Linked DNA regions of Homo sapiens: region 2 is linked to region 1. Evidence: promoter capture Hi-C in human tissues and cell types (Jung and others, 2019). All regions are on one chromosome and are shown on one strand. Each heading gives the region's core, a stretch centred on a gene start or on the middle of the fragment in contact. The rest is flanking DNA. Distances are from core to core; before and after follow the strand shown.

Region 1 (5,160 bases), core at 361-2,860:
CAAGCTCACCCACACCAGCTCCCATCGTGCGGTGGATCAGTGCATGTGCTTGGTTCTGTCTGGCACTGCTGATGGGTGGTTCCTACAGAAAGATCCAGATGCACGGGGTCTGAGGACTGTTTCAGAAGCTCTGTCCGTCCATGCCTGGCCCTGTCCACTTGGGAGTTCCATTAGGCCATGCCTGTTCCAGCTGTCCCAGGATCTTTGATCTGGGTTAGGATTGGCCTGAAACCAAAGGTAGAAAAACACATTCTAATGAGCAGTTGCTGGTCTAGAAGCTTCTCAGCCTAAACTTTATTTCAGCATTTTTCTTTCCCTCCAGATTCAGCTATGAGGCCATCCTATCAGCTTTAGGCTCTGTGGGGGTCCTTGAGAGAGTTCCCCTCCAAGGGACGGACAGATGGTCCCCTTCAAGGTCCTTGTGGTTGCTCAAAAGCCAGGTGCTTGTTTCTTTCTTTTTTTCTCTCCTTCCTTTCCTTCCTTCCCCTCTATCCCTCCTTCCCTCCCTCCCTCCCTCCTCCCTTCCTTTTCTTTCTTTCTTTTCTTTTTTTTTTTTTCTTTCCAGACAGGGTCTCACTGTCATCCAGGCTGGAGTAGCAGCCCCCAATCACGGCTCACTGTACCCTGGATCTCCCGGACTCAAGCAATTTTCCCACCTCAGCTTCCCTAGTAGCTGGGACTATAGGTGTGTACCACCACACCCAGCTAATTTTTAAATTTTTTTATAGAAATGGGGGTCTCACTTTGTTACACAGGCTGGTCTAGAATTCCTGGACTGAAGCAATCCACCCACCCGGCTCTCCCAAAGTGTTGGGGTTACAGGCGTGAGCCACTGCCCCTGGTGTTAGTGTCTGTCTGTCAAGTCAGGAGGGCAGCCATGAACGTTCTGATGTCTACTGAGCACGTGTGGCCCAGACCGTGTGTCAGGTGTTTAGGTGCCATCCACAGAACCTTCCTAATAACCCTGGGCAGCATAGGCTTTCTTATCTCTGACAGATGAGGAAATGGAGACTCAGATTCTGAACCGAAGTCACAGACACAGTAGATGGTAGGTCTAAATGGGGACCCAGGTCTATCTGACTGCAAAGTCCAAACCGTTTCCTTGCCTCTGCTGCAGCCTGCGAGGAGCAGCTGGGCAGAAAGACTGTGCCTTTACGGTGGTGAGTCTTCCGATGCCCAAGCCTCACCCCAGACCGATGAAATCAGAATCTCTGGAGACCCGACCCAGACATTGGTGGGTTTTAGGGCTCCTGGCTGATTCCAGTGGGCAACCGGGCTACCAAGCACTGTTTTACCCTAAGGGTAAGAGGAACATCGCCTCCTCGAGGGCTCTCCAGGTGTGCCTTTCACAGCGTAATCCCGTTCACGAAACCAAAAATCAAAACTAGGCCACTGCCCACTGGTGGCTGATACGCCCTTTTCTCATCAACAGAACCGGGAGGAAGGGCTCTGGTGGGGCTGGCGGTCCCCTGTTCTCCCCGCTCAGGTGCGGCGCTGTGGCAGGAAGCCACCCCCTCGGTCGGCCGGTGCGCGGGGCTGTTGCGCCATCCGCTCCGGCTTTCGTAACCGCACCCTGGGACGGCCCAGAGACGCTCCAGCGCGAGTTCCTCAAATGTTTTCCTGCGTTGCCAGGACCGTCCGCCGCTCTGAGTCATGTGCGAGTGGGAAGTCGCACTGACACTGAGCCGGGCCAGAGGGAGAGGAGCCGAGCGCGGCGCGGGGCCGAGGGACTCGCAGTGTGTGTAGAGAGCCGGGCTCCTGCGGATGGGGGCTGCCCCCGGGGCCTGAGCCCGCCTGCCCGCCCACCGCCCCGCCCCGCCCCTGCCACCCCTGCCGCCCGGTTCCCATTAGCCTGTCCGCCTCTGCGGGACCATGGAGTGGTAGCCGAGGAGGAAGCATGCTGGCCGTCGGCTGCGCGCTGCTGGCTGCCCTGCTGGCCGCGCCGGGAGCGGCGCTGGCCCCAAGGCGCTGCCCTGCGCAGGGTAAGGGCTTCGGGCGCACCTGGAGGGCTGGGGCAGCTAGCGGCTGGGGGAAACCGCCTTGGTCACCGCAGTCTGTGGGAGGCTGGAGGGAGGAAAGGAGGTGCGACGGATCCCCTTTTCTGTGGCTGCCTTGAGGCCCCGCGGGTACCTAGCTGTGTGGTCGCGGGTAGTGGCTCTTGCGCCCCCTGCTGCGCTTGCTCCCTTGGTCCGGAGCGCTCCCCGGAATGCCCGGTGAAGCTGTGCGGGAACCCTGCGGTCTGTGTACAGGACTGTGTCCTTGCAAACCTGACTCTCGAGCTTCCTTCCCAGTGCCCCCAGGAGCCTTTACACAACCGCGTCCCAGGTTACTCTAAGGGGAGACTGCCCGAGAGGGCGCGCCCCAGCGGGGTGATGTACCCGCCTGGGGAGTCCTTTGTACCAGCGCCCCTCTTCTCCCTCTGCATTGGGGGTCCACCTCGCCTGGTCCTCCCCCCACCCCCGCGGGTGCATGTGTGGATGACAGTGCCCTGACTATGAAGGGACTGACATCACGGGCGCTGAGTCACGGATCTTCCCGCTGCACGGAGTCACTTTGGCAGCCACCAACTCTGGGAAGCCAAGTGCCCCAGTCCTGGGAATTGAGTCGGGAGGCTGGCAAGGGAGTGAGACCTCCTGGGGCTGGCACGTGCTGGACTCCCCTCTAGAAAAGAGAAGGACCCGTGAGGGAGAGGGCAGAGGCACTTACTGCTCCCGTTGACTGTAATCTGCCCCTGGCAAACCAGGCTTTTCTTGGGCTCTGGCCGCATGCCCAGCTGCGTGTCTAGTCTCTCTTCTGGAAGAGTTGGGCAACTGGCTCTCCAGAGGTTTATTTTAGGGTCCCAGTGCTTCTTTGAGGACACAGCAGAAAACTAAGGGGCAGCTGACAGGCTTCTGGAACAGCTGACAGGCTGGGGAGGCTGAAGGCTAAGACTTTCAACCACTAGATCACACTGAATTCCAGTCCTAGGTGAACACTGATCTCTCCCTTTGAGGAGGTGACTTTCTGCAACTAGAGGCTGAGCTGGAGTGTCTGAGGCTCTCTTTGCTTTTTGGATGGTTGTGGTCCTTATGATTGGAAGAAAAAAAGAAGGGATTCCATTTTCAATACACATTTATAACTCCTGCCAGTAACAGACACTGTTGATTGGGGCACCCATTCAATGTTTTCTAATCCTCCACTGTATCTACATATAACTTTGTTTGAAAGAGGAGACTGAGGTTCAGGGAGGTTGGGATGGCGGGATGGCAGGTTGTCAGGCCCCGGTGATGGAGGCCAACCCCTCCCGTGGCTCTGTGCTCCAGTGTGGTAGATGTCTAAGACTCTCAAATATAGAACTAGATCAGCAGGCAGAGCTGGGGGCATTGGGGCAAGCTGAGAGTCACTCTTGTCTGGCTGAGTGCTGGGACAGAAAAGGCTGAGGGAGGGAAGTGGAGGCCCAGGCTTGCCCATGGTGGTGTTAGAGGGATGCAAGACAGGTTCCAGGGCTCGGATGGCCTCAGGAGCAAGCAGGGCTCCCTTGGCTGCCTCTGCTGCTGTCACGCCAGCCCAAGGCTCCTGCCCCAGGGAGGTTACTGTTACTGCTGTAGTTGCCACCACCTGTTGCTCCTGAGTGGATGCTAGGCCCTTCCAGGGCAGCCAGTTACAGTCAGTTTTCCATTTCCCTGGTGCTCAGGAAGGATTAGGAGAGGTGGTCTCATGGCCTGAACAGCCCATGAAAGGCAGAACTGAGAGACTGGGGAGGAAGTGAAAGTCCTCCCAGCTCAGAAGGAAAATGCAGAGAAGTAGAAATACCCAGCCCCTCTCCCACACCCACACAGACTCAGCCCACAAACTGGAGAGTAAAAATAAAGAAATCGTACAGGAAGCATGGAGCAAATGACTGTGAGATGTTTCGCTTTAGAGAAGTGAGGAGCAGAGGGGGAGCAGAGGCTGGAGTTGGCTGAGAGGGGAAATCCGCAGGTACAGCCTGCGGGGCTCTTAGAGCCCAGAGGTTTGTTTTCCTCGGGATCAGCTGCCGCCCACACACCCTGGAGCTGCCAGGACTTCTCAGGTGTACTCGTTGTCTAAGGGCCTGGACTAGCTGGGACTTAGGCTTCTGCCGGTTCCAACACTCTGGTGCTGGAAGGCTGGACTTGGGTGACTCAAGTTCCCTCTTCCTACTGCAATGCAAGAAAATACACAAAAGAAGTATGTATACCTTTAAGTATCTCAAAGAGCTATCTCAGCTTCTGAATTTCCTTCTAGGGCACCTCTTCCTGCCCCCATTACCCACACACGTGCCTAGCCTCACCCTAAATCAGTATTTCTCAAAAGCTTAGTTCTGAGCCTAGCATCAGATCTGGTGTGTGTGCTGGGTGGGAGGGCTTTGGTAAACATGATGATTTTTGAACCCTAACCCAGATTTATTAAATAAGAACACCTAGGAGTGAGGCCTGGGGCATGTCCTTTTAAACAAACTGCCCCTTGTGATTCTTAGGCACTGTCAGGTTTGAGGACGGCTGCCTAAATGGTGTCATTGAGGAACTGAATGAAGGCCCTCCCGCTTCGGGCTCTCTGTTGCCAGAAATCTCTCCTTGCTTTGGCTTGCTGCTTGTTTATTCATTGCAGCAAACATTTCTTGAGTCGGTGTAGAGCCTGTGAGGCCTGTGTAGGATCAGCTATGCAGACTCCACCCTAAAAGGAGCCTGAAAATGGTCATGGGTAAATCCTGAGAAGGGCTGAGAAACCCCAGACTCTGACCGGGCCACTGGGTACCAACTACCCGTGAACAGATTGTCTGGCTTGGGGTAGGGGGTGGTTAGAGAGAGGAAGTTCCTCTGACTGAGGACCAAGATCCCAAGGCAGCAGGCACACTGATCCTGACCCTGACCCTCATCTCCAGCCCTCAGCAGCCAGGGTAAACAAATACTCCCCTCACTGGGTATTTGTAGATTACACAAAGTAACCTAGGTGCTGACTGCTGAAAATATACACTCCCTTCCCCCGTCTCCTGAATCCTGGTCCCACCAGGCCTGGAAGCCACAGACCCAGCAAGCAAAAGAGTTTCCAGTCAATGAATCTAGTCTGGATTGAAGCTGTGCTCTGTAATACGGTAGCCACTAGCCACGTGTACCTATTTAAATTTAAATTATGCCAGCGCAGTGACTCACGCCTGTAATC
Region 2 (5,272 bases), core at 2,332-4,831, 200 kb after region 1:
GCGCAGTAACGAAAACAATCTCCAGGTGGGAAAAGGCCACGGGACCTCAGAGTCATCTCTGTGGCTCTTCACTGCCATCCCAGGAGGATCAGAATTTGGTCTTCAGGGAGCTGGAGGGTTTCCTGATAAAAATGGCACACTGTCCTCACTCTTCAGTGTGGTACCCAGGCTCAGAAGGGATGCCAGAGACTTTTGCCCAAACCACCCAGGCTCTCCTGGATGTGTGGAGCTGGCAGCATCTGCTCCTCACCACCTCAGACCAGTCCTACCTTCCCTAGCTACTTCCCCATAGCTGCTTCCACTGCACGTTCTTCTGAACCCTGACGGACAGGGCACAAGCAACCCCATGTTCTCATATGCACATTTACCAGAACACCAAGCACCTGTGACCCCTTTCCCCACCCACCCACCTGCAAACCAGTACTGTCTTCTCCCCAGGGCTGTTCACTGGAGGGTGATGGAGCCAGGAAGTACTTATAAGCCTGGGGGTGTCAGTAAACACCTTGCTTCCTTTCCCTGGGGCTTGTAGACTGGGAGGAGGGATTCTGACAACATTTACTCACACTCACCGCCCCCTCCTCAGACTCTCCTGGAGGCTGCACAGGTAGAGGTGGGACCCTTTCTTCCATAACTCTAGCCTTCTACTCTTCCACATCCTGACACACTTAGGGGATTTCAGCATTCTTGTCAATCACTCTCATGGTGTCCTGGCTACAAGGATCCTTAACCCAGTGATCTCCATCCCTACCTTTCTGCCACACAATTGGCTTGTCTAGCTACTCCTTCAATCTCACTATGACTCTAACCTAGGCCATCACACCAAGACCTCAAATCCTGCAACTCTTTTCCAGTGGCTGATAAACTTTTTCTATAAAGGGCCAGACAGCTCTGCCACTGTAGCACAAAAACAGCCTCACACAATATGCAAAACTTTATTTACAATTCATTTACCATGAAGCTTTATTTATAAAAACAGGTAGTTTGTACCTGTGGGCCATAGTTTCTTGACTCCTGCTCTTTTCTGATGGTGACTTCCCTGTGTTTCTACAACTTCACTCCTTACTCTGGTGGAACCTGCTCCTCGCATGACCCCGGTGAAGCTGCCAGTAAGCCACCCTGATTCTTCCCCACTCTGACTTCACACACCTCCTCACCCCACCTGGATCTCATGGTCAGTTCCCTTCTCCACCCAAGGCCCACTGTCCCCCTTTTCTTCTCCAAAGCTTCCCAGTGGTACTGGAGAAGGACCTTGACTTGTGCTAACAGGGTCCATAAAAATTCCTTCTCTTGAACCTCATTTGGGTCTTCGCTGTGTGGTGGTCAATTGTGTTTAACAAACATGCCTTAGTTCACTGTGGATTGAGTACTCTTCTTTTAAAAAATTCTCCTCCCAGGGTTTGGTGACACAGCAAAGGTCTTTCACCTCTTTTTTCTTCTTTGTCCCTTTTTCCCACCCCTTATAATTTTTTAATAGCTACTGTATTAACGGATCCACCCTTTATATAATCAGTCTCCAAGGTTTTAAGGACCTCTTCTTCCTTTATAATTTATTTCCTAGGTTGCTTTAATCACTGCCCCAACCTAAACTAGCCCTCTGAAGCAAGAGCACTCAAATCTACTATGTCCAGCCACTACCTTGTGTGGGAGCTTAAGATCTGAATTTCCAACTATGTCGACAGTCTGTCCACTTAAATATCCTGCCATAACTCAAACAGCACATATTCTGAACCAAATTAATAGTTCCCTCAAACTCAGCTCCTTCTCCTGTAGTTCTTATTGCTAATGGCATCACTCTCCTCCTAGCCTATTAAGGCTAGAAACCTGCGTCATCTTTGCTGCCCGCCTCCTGGCCTCATCTCCTGGATCTCATCAGGTAGTTGCCAAGTCCCACCTTGTCTGCCACCTCTGTACTGTGTCTTAAATGTGTTTTCTTCCAGTTCCAGCCCCTCATTACCTCTTACTGGGCCATTGCAAAGGCCTATAATCTTTCTATCCCTCTACATGCCAATCCAGGTGGCACATCTCCCTCCACAGCCACCTATCACAACTCTGACCCTTTCCTTATAGAGCTCCTTAAATGCCACTTGCTTCAGGAGACTCCTGACTCCCACCTTCTTCAGCCCTTGGGGTTTCCTCTCCTTGAGCTTCTCCTACTCAGCACCTGTTAAACCATTTACTTTCCCTCGTATCAGAGCTACTGGATTTTTTTTTTTTTTATGGCACACACACATTGCAGTGTCTGAAAGGTAATTAACATTAGGTGTCCTATAAGTTATACTCAACTCTCCACTCTCAATATTCCCAACACAGTACTGATGAGGGGCTTCAGTTGATTCCATGGTGAGCTCTTGGGGGTCAAGGACTATGCTTCAATCATCTCAACCTCTCTAGCACTTGGCACAAAGCTGATTCTCAACAAACATTTGTTGAATTAATGACTGCATGAACAAGACGCCACTATGCAAGCAATCATTTCTTTCTTGTTCCTCTTGCTGCACCCTCACGCCCACCATATTGCTAGGGACAGAGGCAAATGTGTGTACAGAGTGAGTGCTGGCTCCCAGAGCTGAATTATGGGACTTAGGGGTTCTCCTATTAGCTCTTTGAGTGACCTTGGGAAAAAAAAATTGTGTTTCAAAGTGGCTAGAGTCAGTTAAAAGCTAAATGTTTTTTAAACTGCTACTCTTGGCCCAAATCTGGAAAATATTTTAATGTCTGTCTATAGAAGAATTAAATTATGAAACATTCATTCTATGGAATAGTACTCACACGGTTATTTTTTTTCTTGTGAGACGGAGTCTCGCTCTGTTGCCAAGCTGGAGTGCAGTGGCATGATCTCGGCTCACTGCAATCAGGCTGGAGTGCAGTGTGATCTCAGCTCACTGCAATCTCCGCCTCCCGGGTTCAAGTGATTCTCCTGCCTCAGCCTCCGGAGTAGCTGGGATTACAGGCGCACGCCACCACACCCAGCTAATTTTTGTATTTTTAGTAGAGATGGGGTTTCACCATGCTGGCCAGGATGGTGTCGATCTCCTGATCCGCCCTCCTCGGCCTCCCAAAGTGCTGGGATTACAGGCATGAGCTACCACGCCCGGCCAGTTATTTTATTTTTTTAAAATGTGTCATATCTATTTGTATTCACCTGGGGATAATTTAGGAATCATATAATGTTCAATAAAACAACAAAAAGTTGTAGAATAGTATGTACATTATAATTTTTTTCCCTAAACAAAAAGAGAAAATCCATGAATGTGTATGTGTGCGCACAATGGAATGAACACAGAGAAAAGAAAGGAGATGTAAGTTTGCTAAGGATATCTTAGGGCAGTAGGGTTAGAGGGAGAGGAGGAGATTATTAATCTTTCTTTTTGCCCCCCTTAAATCCCCTAAACACCAAGCCACCGTTGAGTACAGCCATTTGGAAAGCTACGGAATAGGAGAGCAAGAAAGTGAGCAAGCAACCCACAGTGATCCTTTCTAAATCTCTCAGCATCACCTCTATGCAAATTACATAACAACTCATTTAACATTCATTGCCTCCCAGATTTCACTTTAATCTGGTCTCACATATTTAGGATCAAGAGATAAGCACTACCCCCTTTGCCTTTACCACACAGGTTCCACAGTGCAATACACTGACACCTGTGCAGAAATGCTTTTCCTTCAAGTTAGGCGTCCTTAATCCTTTCAAAGGAGTGCTTAAAAAAAAAAAAATATATATATATCTTAACAAAATTGAGGTATATAATTTAGATACAGTAAAATTTATCCTTTTAAGTGTATAAATCTATGAATTTCGACAATCGCCACCACAATCAAGATATAGAACATTTCTATTTCCCTAAAAAGCTTTTTCATGCCACTCAACAATCAATTTCTTCCACGATACCCAGTCCCTGGCACCCACGGATCCACTTTCCATCCCTATAACTGTGGTTTTTTTTTTCCAGAATGTCATATAAATGGACTCATACAGTATGCAGCCTTTTGAGTCTGGCTTCTCGTGCTTAGCATAACGCACTTGCGAGTCACCCGTGTTGTTACTTGTAACAGTATTTCCTCTTCACTACTAAGCAGTATCCCATTATGTGGATGTATTTCAGTTTATCTGTTAACCTGCTGAAGGCCATTTGTGTTTTCCCAGTTTTTAGCTATAAAGTGGTTAACAAGCTTTCTCCTACAGCTTAAGTGCCATTTTTAACTCCCAGAAGGCCTTCAGGAGGTGGATAAGGTGAGCTGAGGATAGTGTGCGCTGCTCAAAGTCCGAACGTTGTTCAAGTGGGGCTAAAGCGGGGGTAGGGGGTTCCACAAGGGGCCCTAGCAGAAAGGGAGACGATGTGTCTGCCTTGACATGGGCTCAGGCCTTCCTACTCAGACGGGGGCGCATTTTCCCCCAAGCCCTCTTCACGCACTGCTCCATTCTGCAGAATTAATGAGCAGGATACAAATTCACAAATTCCTAAACCAGCAATGCTGCTTGGCAAGACTACACACACACGCACACACACACACACACACTCTCACAAGACGCACAAATTCCTAAACCAGCAATGCTGCTTGGCAAGACGACACACACCCACACACACACACTCACAAGACGCACAAATTCCTAAACCAGCAATGCTGCTTGGCAAGACGACACACACACACACACTCTAACACTCACAAGACGCACACGCTACGCACTGCAACACAAAGCCTGTGAGGTTGTAAACGAACCCAGACGGCGGCGAAGGTCCAAGGCCGGCCCGGCTTACCTGCCGCGGATTCATTGCGCCCGCGAGGCATTGCCCGGCCCGACCCGCCGGCGGCACGACCCTGGCCCGACCGCTGGGCCGCGCCAGCCCCTCGAGGCCCCCACGCCTCCGCTACTCCGCACTGGAAGTGGCCCCGGGGCGTCGGCACGGGAAACTCCGCGGGTCTGCGCGCCGGGCCCAAGATGGCTCCGGTTCAATTTCGCTTTCGTTTCCTCGGAAAGCCTTCCCCTCCGGAAAGTTTGGCCAAGAGGAGGGGCTTGAGCAAATCTTGCGCCACGCTTGGTTTCAGGCCGGTTACAAGTCGAACCCCTCCGCTGCATGAGAACTACGGAAGGTACTTTTTTTTTTTTTTTTGAGGCGGAGTCTCGCTCTTTTTGCCCAGGCTGGAGTGCAATGGCGCAATCTCGGCTCACTGCAACCTCTGCCCCCCGGGTTCAAGCGATTCTCCTGCCTCAGCCTACGGAGTAGCTGGGATTACAGGCGAGCGCCATCACTCCTGGCTTTTTTTTTTTTTT

The links. The method cuts DNA at HindIII sites, captures the fragments that hold promoters and counts their contacts. A contact is called where the count stands out against the background at its distance.
Region 2: a contact is called between a fragment that was not itself captured here and the fragment with the promoter of IL6R in region 1, in 2 of the 25 tissues and cell types used here (dorsolateral prefrontal cortex and spleen).

Annotation. Positions count from the first base shown.
Region 1 is chr1:154,403,733-154,408,892 of GRCh38, forward strand. IL6R (interleukin 6 receptor) reads left to right here and starts at 1,611. Exons shown (of 10, transcript NM_000565.4): 1 at 1,611-1,982. The coding sequence starts at 1,898. It overlaps IL6R-AS1 (IL6R antisense RNA 1), which reads right to left and starts at 2,832. Exons shown (of 2, transcript NR_147855.1): 1 at 2,707-2,832; 2 at 1-225. RefSeq lists silencers at 1,416-1,545, 1,746-1,895 and an enhancer at 2,135-2,741. The HindIII fragment of the contact is 9,903 bases long and covers 1-5,160 here.
Region 2 is chr1:154,603,235-154,608,506 of GRCh38, forward strand. ADAR (adenosine deaminase RNA specific) reads right to left here and starts at 4,952. Exons shown (of 15, transcript NM_001111.5): 1 at 4,758-4,952. The coding sequence starts at 4,772. RefSeq lists a silencer at 4,726-4,835 and an enhancer at 4,836-5,225. The HindIII fragment of the contact is 4,982 bases long and covers 1,091-5,272 here.